Regions from separate parts of the Homo sapiens genome. Here region 2 is linked to region 1. Evidence: promoter capture Hi-C in 16 types of primary human blood cells and fetal thymus (Javierre and others, 2016). All regions are on one chromosome and are shown on one strand. Each heading gives the region's core, a stretch centred on a gene start or on the middle of the fragment in contact. The rest is flanking DNA. Distances are from core to core; before and after follow the strand shown.

Region 1 (4,184 bases), core at 1,030-3,529:
ACACTACCCATTGTGCCTTTTTTTTTTTTTTGAGACAGTCTTGCCCTGTCACCCAGGCTGGATCTCGGCTCACTGTAACCTCCGCTTGCCAGGTTCAAGCATTTCTCCTGCTCGGCCTCTGTAGTAACTGGGATTATAGGCATGTACCACCAAGCCTGGCTAATTTTTATATTTTTAGTAGAGATGGGTTTTCGTCATGTTGGCCAGTCTGGTCTCGAACTCCTGGCCCCAAGTGATCCGCCTGCCTCGGTCTTCCAAAGTGTTGGGCCTACCCATTGTGTCTTAACCTCTTCTTTCACTAAAAAACCCATTCCTGTCTCTGTTCTAATTCTCTTGTTTCTAGCCTTTGTCGATCTAAAAATAATTTTAATTATGAATGTTTCACTTTATCTTTTCCTTTTCATCTCATTGACTCAGCCTTTCACTGTGCTCCTGGCATTTTTTCTCCTTCTTCCTCCAAATCAGTCTGTAGGTTTTATCTGTCTCAAAGGAATTTCTTCCTTCAGGAACTTCCAGCTGTTATTGGCTCTGGTTTCCTTGGCAACCCCTGCTTCTCAGATTTTTTTTCTGATTACTTAAGAGAAATTTTACAAAATCACTGATAACCACTGATCAGAAACCGTAGAAGAAAGGGAAAGTGCTCTGCATTGCCTCTGAGAAAGGAAGGGGGCAGATTTAGAGGAAAGAGAAAAATACTGAGACCCAGGGAGATGGAAGTAAAATGTGTGAATTAAGTATTGATTTACATGGTTTGTTATTTTCATCTGTCAGTGTACTGCTGTGTCGTCAGATTTCAGAGACAATTACCTCATTAGTTAGATAGCCCTATCATCTATCAAACAAAATACTCCTAGATCTTGTTCAACCATTGTGGAATGTAGGAAATCATATTCCAGATTATTGTGAGAATATAAAACACAAATCTTCAGAGAAGATGAAAGAAAAAAGATGTAGACTAAACTTGCACTAATATTTACATTAGAAACATTATTAGTATGCAATGCAATGAGAATTGAGTAAGGTTAGTAACTACAGATCCTAATTGGAAGTCTGTTGATATATTTAAAAAATATAACGAGTGAGATTTTATTTTGTACAGTACTGCTGTTCTGTATTTCATGTTACCATACTACTGCTTTTGTTAAATGAAGACACCAGGACAGGGATTAGGTGCTTTGTGTAGGGCTAATAGAGATACATAAATTTCTGGCAAAATTCACAACGTTCTTTCTTAGAGACAGATTTAACTGTCTAGTCAGTGTTTGGTGTTGGTGAGCACATAACTATCTAACAAAACTCTCATTAGAAAAAGTTGAAAAACATTCATTTTTCAGAAGCTTTTTGCTATTCAAGGCAAATTGAGCATTATTGAGTTAACTACACCAGGAGAGAAATTAATTTGCTAATTTGTAGAACTACAGAGTATTACCTAGCAAATTCAGTAGTTTAGTTCTCAGGGTTTTTTTTTTTTTCCTTTTGGCATGGAGTCTAGCTCTGTTGCCCAGGCAGGAGTGCAATGGCACAATCTCGGCTCACTGCAACCTCTGCCTCCCAGGTTCAAGCGATTCTCCTGCCTCAGCCTCCCAGGTAGCTTGGATTATAGGGGTCCACCACCACGTCCGGCTAATTTTTGTATTTTTAGTAGAGACGGGGTTTCGCCATGTTGGCCAGGCTGGTCTCGAACTCCTGGCCTCAGGTGATCCACCCGCCTCAGCCTCCCAAAGTGCTGGGATTACAGGCGTGAGCCACTGCGCCTGGCCAGTAGTTTAGTTCTATACTTGAATTGATGGATTGCATTCTATCTTGTAAAATTTGAATAAAAAGTAAATACAGTGTTTACCAGTGAAGTTATTTACTCATTACATATTGATATAATTGATAATCACTACATATTTTATCATATTGAATTCAAGACACTGTGATAACAGATTTTTTTGAAGCAAAATCCTGTTTTAAGTCTTTGGATATAGTACTTTTGCTGACCACTCTTGCATTTGTCTCTCCAACATTATTCCCCACCTCATTCCCATTATGAAACAGTTCACTGTTTGGAGAGCTGGGCCCCACCTCCGGCTCCGAGATCAATCCTGATTGGGTGAAACTAATCTGAGTAACCCCTCCTTCACAGGGGTTTGTCAGATAACCCAGGCTTGAGCCAATCACCGTTCTCTGGGACACAGATTGGACTGAGTTATCTTGTAACTGTCATACTCCAGATTTATGTGGGAGCAGGAACTCCTTTGGACCTTAAGGAGGAAGCACGTGGCTGCTTTTACCTGCTGGCAGTTATCTTGTGTTCTTGAAGGAAGCAGGCCTGAGGAGGACTCCTCATACAGAGAGAAACACCGAGAGATTCACTGAAAAACTGACATGGGATCCTGAGGGGCCACTCTTGAAGACTTATCTCTGCACCTTTCTGGTATGTAAGTCAATACATTCCTTTAATTTAACCCTGTTTCAATTGAATTTATTGTTACTTCTACATGAAAAACAAAAAGTCCTAAATGATATATCTACTCTTTGGCTTCATGTAAGAATTCAAGAGTGTAGCAGCTAATTTCAGTGTAGTTATATTGGGATTATTTAAGAAGTTTATTTAGCATCTCATTACTGAGTCTGCAGTTGTCTTAGTACCTTGTAGATACTTGGGGTTTTGTGTTCTAATAGACTGATTAATTCAACAACTGCTTATTATTAATATAAGCATTCACTCCCTGTAGGGCACTGTGCATACAGCAATGATCAGCATGATTCCAGTGCTCAGAGAGCTCCAAGGATTAGTTGAGACCAGACAAGAATATCAAGGAGGCATGCAGAAGTTACAATGGGAAATCAAAAAGAAGACAAAGGAGGGACACCTAATTCAGAACGATGGGTTTGTTGGATAGGAGAGAAAAGGAGACGAATGGGCAGGTATCATCAAAGATTCCTAAGAAGAAGTTCCTAACTTCTGTTTTTGTGCCATTGACTCTTTGGCAGTGTGGAGAAACCCAGGGACCCATTTTCAGAACAGTGTTTTTAAATGCATAAAATATTTTGGATTAAAAGGAAACTCTGAGTATTGAAATACCTAACAAAATATTTTAAAAGCAAATTTGTAATACAGTAATGTATATGCTTCTTTATTAACTAATTAAAGAACAAGATATAGCAATGAGCATACCTATTAAGATAATTTTAGAGGTACTAATGACTATAAATGAAATTTTGAGTTGTCTGCAGCAACTGTTATGTGAAATGAAAATACCTGTGGTTTTTTTGGTTGTGAAGTCACAGGTACTACTAATGCTAATACTATTGTGGTTTGTGGCATACGTTCATAATAGAATGACATGCTAAATTTTATTTGGAAAGTTAGTTCAACACAATTTCCTGGCTCTGAATTCTATGCCAAGTTAAAAAAAAATTTGTGCTAAGAAGGGATAAAATTTGATGTAATTCTTTTATTTATTTATTTATTTTTTTAGACAGAGTCTCGCTCTATCGCCCAGGCTGGTGTGCAGTGGTGCAATCTCACTGCAACCTTTGCCTCCTGGGTTCAAGCCATTCTCCTGCCTCAGCCTCCCGAGCAGCTGGGACTACAAGCAGACGTCACCATGCCTGGCTGATTCTTTTTGTATTTTTCAGTAGAAATGGGGTTTCACCATGTTGGTCAGGCTGATCTTGAACTCCTGACCTCAAGTGACTTGCCCACCTCGGCCTTCCAAAGTGCTGGGATTACAGGCATGAGCTACCACGCCCAGCCCCAGAAAGCTTTTCTGATCATCCAATTTCTATTTTCCCCAAATAGAATTAATGACTTCCTTTTCTATATTGTATTGGGAGCTTATATAATTTCAATCCTTGTATTTTTCATAATGTATTACAATCATATTTCTATCTTTTTTATAATATATTGTAATCTTACATTTCTGTCATTTTTACAAGCCCTTAAAAATAATGGATGGGGCCAAGTGCAGTGGCTCACACCTGTCATCTCAGCACTTTGGGAGGCTGAGGTGGAAGGATCACCTGGGCCCAGGAGTTCAAGACCAGCCTGACCAACATAGTGAGACACGGCCTCTATAAAAAATAATAATAATAATGAATGGGCTGGGGGCAGTAGCTCACACCTGTAATCCCAACACTTCAGGAAGCCGAGGTGGGTAGATGGCTTGAGTCCAGGAGTTTGAGACTAGCCTGGG
Region 2 (4,184 bases), core at 1,182-3,681, 34 kb before region 1:
ATTTGTACTGTGTCTCTATAGCTGTATATATGTGTGTGATATGTCAAGAGTACAAATATTGAACTCTATTCATTCTTCATTCCTGTATTCATTCAACAGTTATTCAGTGCCAATTATGTGCAAGCATAATAGTTTGTCTTAGCTGAAGTATTTTATTATGTGTCCTAGTCTGTCTGTATTGCTTCCATTCTGCTATCAGAAAGAACTTTGAAAACGAAAATGCAAAACTGATCATAGTATGCCCCGGTTTAAAACTGTTCAGTGATTTGCATAATACAAAGTTTGCATTCCTTCACCTACCATCCAAAACCCATCATGATCTTGCCTTCCCTACCCTTCTCCAACCATACCATGCTACATTCAGTTCCTTGAATATGCCAATATCCTTTCATGATTATGAGTCTTTATACATATTGTTATCCTGGAATTTTCCTTCCCCTTTCCAGATGAACTAACACTCATCTGATTCTCTACATCTCAGCTCAAGCTTTTCCTTTTCTAGTTAAAATATACCTGAAGCTACTACCCCCAGCATTAGTTTCCCTACCACAGATGTGGTCTCAATAAGAATTCTTATTGTGTTTCATTGTAATTGCCTATTTAAATGTCTTTTGCTAAGTTATGCATTTCTGAAAGTAACGGAGCAATATTTTATCTTAGTGTCACCAGCATCAAGTTCTGTATCTGTCATACAGAAAATGCCCCATAAATATTTGTTAAATGACTGAATAAATGCTAGGCAATCAAGGGGATACCAAGACTTAATCTTTGTCCTGAAGAAGTCTAAAAAATAAATAATCAGAATACATCAGTATCACCAAGTTATTTACTGTGTTATTTGCTTTAAATGAAGCCAACTTTTTAATAAAGGAACTTTGTTCCAAAATGAATTATAAACCAGCATATGTAGGAAATCTACAAATAGATAGGCTGCTGCTGCTTAAAGCCCACTGGAGTGATTTTTCTGAAGTATAGATCTGTCCAAAGAAAAAAATGAATATGAAAACATAAGAAAAGTCATTAAGATGGGAGGAAAAATGGGACAGTAGAAAAAGTAAGCTAGGCCGGGTTCTGTGGCTCATGCCTGTAATCCCAGCACTTTGGGAGACCGAGGCGGGCAGATTACTTGAGGTCAGGAGTTCGAGACCAGCCTGGCCAACATGGTGAAACCCTTCTCTACTAAAAATACAAAAATTAGCTGGCATGGTGGCAAGCACCTTTAATCCCAGCTACTCGGGAGGCTGAGGTGGGAGAATTGCTTGAACCCGGGAGGCGGAGGTTGCAGTGAGGCGGAGATCGTGCTACTGCACTCCAGCCTGGGTGACAGAGAGAGACCCTGTCTCAAAAAAAAAAAAAAAAAAGAGAGAGAGAGAGAGAAAGTAAGCTAGACTGATTTGGTCCTCCTCTAGTTGCAGTTCAAGAAAAAAATGGAGAAAAAATAAGCATATCTGCTACTGCTTCTAAGTCTTATATCTTCAGATTGACACTCATAAACCAAAAAGAGTTTGCCTACTACATAACCACCTTATTTAAATGGCAAAAAACCAAATTATTAGCTTTGGACTCAGTGGCTCACACCTGTAATCTCAGCTACTTGGGAGACTGAGGCAGGAGGCTGGCTTGAGGCCAGGAGTTTGAGGCCAGCCTGAGCAACATGTTGAGACATCATCTCTAAAAGACCTTTTTTAAAAATTAGCTGCGCATGGTGGCATTGTCTGTAGTCCCAGCTACTTGGGAGGCTGAGGCGGGAAGATCCCTTGAGCCCAGGAGTTTGAGGATGCAGTAATCTATGATTGAAACACTGCACTCAAGCCTGGCTGGCAGAGAGAGACCCTGTCACTAAAAAAATTTTTTTTTATTATTTAACCTTAAAGACTACTGGGTAATTTTATCCAATTATATTGGAGCATTTTTGAGTTTCTAGTAGAATAGTTTTTATTATAAATAGTTCTGAAGTCATGCTCTCCCATTTATAACTTCATATTTACTTATTAAAAATGTCTTTAATCTTTACAGGACATTTTTTTGAGACTAGATACAGCCCCTGAGGCATTTTTTCCATAAGCAGAAATTCTAAGTCCATTTCCCTGTTTCTTGCTAAATGTTCGCTTATTAAAACAGAGCCTTAATCAAAAGTTTTGGGTCACAAGCATTAGGGTGGATAATATCACCATCCAGTCATTCGCTCAAAAATTTTATTTTATTTATTGTGTTCACTGCAACCTACCCCCACCCCCCACCCGGATCGCTTGAGCCTGGAAGGTGGAAGCTGTGTGAACTGAGTTGAGTAAGACCGTATCACACACACACAAAGACAAACTTAGTCCCTAGTGTTGAACAGTTTACAGGAGAGTGAGAGAGTTAGACCAAACAACTATAACACATAGAGTCTTTTTTTTATGGGGGGACAGAGTCTTGCTATGTCGCCCACGCTGGAGTGCAAAGCCACGATCTCAGCTCACTGCAACCCCCGCCTCCCAGGTTCAAGCGATTCTCTTGCCTCAGCCTCCCCAGTAGCTGGGACTACAAGCGCTCGCCACCATGCCCAGCTAATTTTTGTATTTTTAGTAGAGACAGGGTTTCACCATGTTGGCCAGGCTGGTTTTGAATTCCTGACCTTGTGATTCACCCACCTTGGCTTCCCAAAGTGCTAGGATTTACAGGTGTGAGCCAAGGCGCCCGGCCTGTAGAGTCATTTTTATAAAGTATCATTATGACATTACCCAACTGATACTATGGTTGATTCCTTCATTTAAACCCTCAGAGACACAAGCACCTCCACTGCCTTGACTGTCTCTTTCTTAGATTACTACCACAGCAGCCAAATTGACCTCATTTCTTCCTTCTCACAGTCCACCCTCAACATAGCAACCCCAGTGATCCTTTTAATACATGTCCAGTTATGTCCCTCCTCCTTAAGACTCTAATGTCTTTACATCTCACTCAGAGTAAAAGCCAAAGTTTTTATTTTTATTTTTATTTATTTTTTACTTTTGAGACGGAGTCTCGCTCTGTCGCCCAGGCTGGAGTGCAGTGGCCTGATCTCTGCTCACTGCAAGCTCCGCCTTCCAGGTTCACGCCATTCTCCTGCCTCTGCCTCCCCAGTAGCTGGGACCACAGGCGCCCGCCACCACACCCGGCTAATTTTTTTTGTATTTTTAGTAGAGACGGGGTTTCAGCATGTTAGCCAGGATGGTCTGGATCCCTAGACCTCGTGATCCGCCCGCCTCGGCCTCCCAAAGTGCTGGGATTACAGGCGTGAGTCACCGCGCCCGGCCAAAGCCAGAGTTTTTTAATTGCCCTACGATATTCTCTCTGCTGTTATCTCCTACTTTTCTGTCCTCCGTTTAAAGTGGGTTCCTTGCCTATTCCCTGAACAAGTCAGGTATGCTCCTGCACAGGGCCTTTGCACAAACTACTCCCTCATTCCTGCTACTGTGGGAATACCTTTCCCCCAAATAGCCCACAGCTGTTTCCCCCATCACCTCTAGGTCTTTGCTCAAATGACACCTCCTTCTCAGTGAGACTACCCTGACTACACTATTTCAAATTTCAACCCATTTTCTTGTAAATTTCCTTTCTTGAGACAGGATCTCACTCTGTTTCCCAGGCTAGAGTGCACTAGTGTGATCTCGGCTCACTGCAGCCTCAACTTCCTGGGCTCAAGCGATCCTCCACCTTAGCCACCTGAGTAGATGGGACTACAGGTATGTGCCACCATGCTTAGCTATTTTTTAAAAAAATGTTTATAGAGATCAGGTCTCACTGTGTTGCCCATGCTTATCTTAAACTCCTGGCCTCCGGCAATCCTCCCATCTTGGCCTCCCAAAGTGCTGGGATTATAGGCATGAGTTACCACATCCAGCCTCCTCCCCAAATCTTGATGTCCCTTATTTTGCTCTAATTTCCTCATAGCACTTATTACTTCCTAGAAGACTGTAGATTTATAAACTACTTATTTATTGTGTTTATTAGGTGTTATCTGTCTCCTCGCTAGAATTAATGTCTATAGGGACAATACCTTTTTTGTTTTGTTTCCTTATATATATCACACCTAGAACAAGGTCTGGTACATAGTAGGTGTGTAATAAATATTTCTTAGTAAATAAATATTTTTTAAAAACTCTACCTCCTGCTTGGACAAAAGGAAGTCTAGTGTTTATTCATTTATTGACTCAGCCAAA

Evidence for each region. Contacts are between HindIII fragments. The CHiCAGO score rates a contact against its expected background, and 5 or more counts as called.
Region 2: a contact is called between a fragment that was not itself captured here and the fragment with the promoter of LINC03102 in region 1, in 1 of 17 cell types (naive CD8 T cells). The highest score is 5.9, in naive CD8 T cells.

The regions. Positions count from the first base shown.
Region 1 is chr1:70,358,532-70,362,715 of GRCh38, reverse strand. LINC03102 (long intergenic non-protein coding RNA 3102) reads left to right here and starts at 2,279. Exons shown (of 2, transcript NR_183713.1): 1 at 2,279-2,419; 2 at 2,721-3,157. The region is part of intron 1 of ANKRD13C-DT (ANKRD13C divergent transcript); the gene reads right to left. RefSeq lists a silencer at 2,154-2,347 and an enhancer at 3,584-3,643. The HindIII fragment of the contact is 2,416 bases long and covers 1,340-3,755 here.
Region 2 is chr1:70,392,864-70,397,047 of GRCh38, reverse strand. No RefSeq gene overlaps it. Among named protein-coding and RNA genes, the nearest start is that of CTH, 16 kb to the left of the region's middle. The HindIII fragment of the contact is 3,884 bases long and covers 490-4,184 here.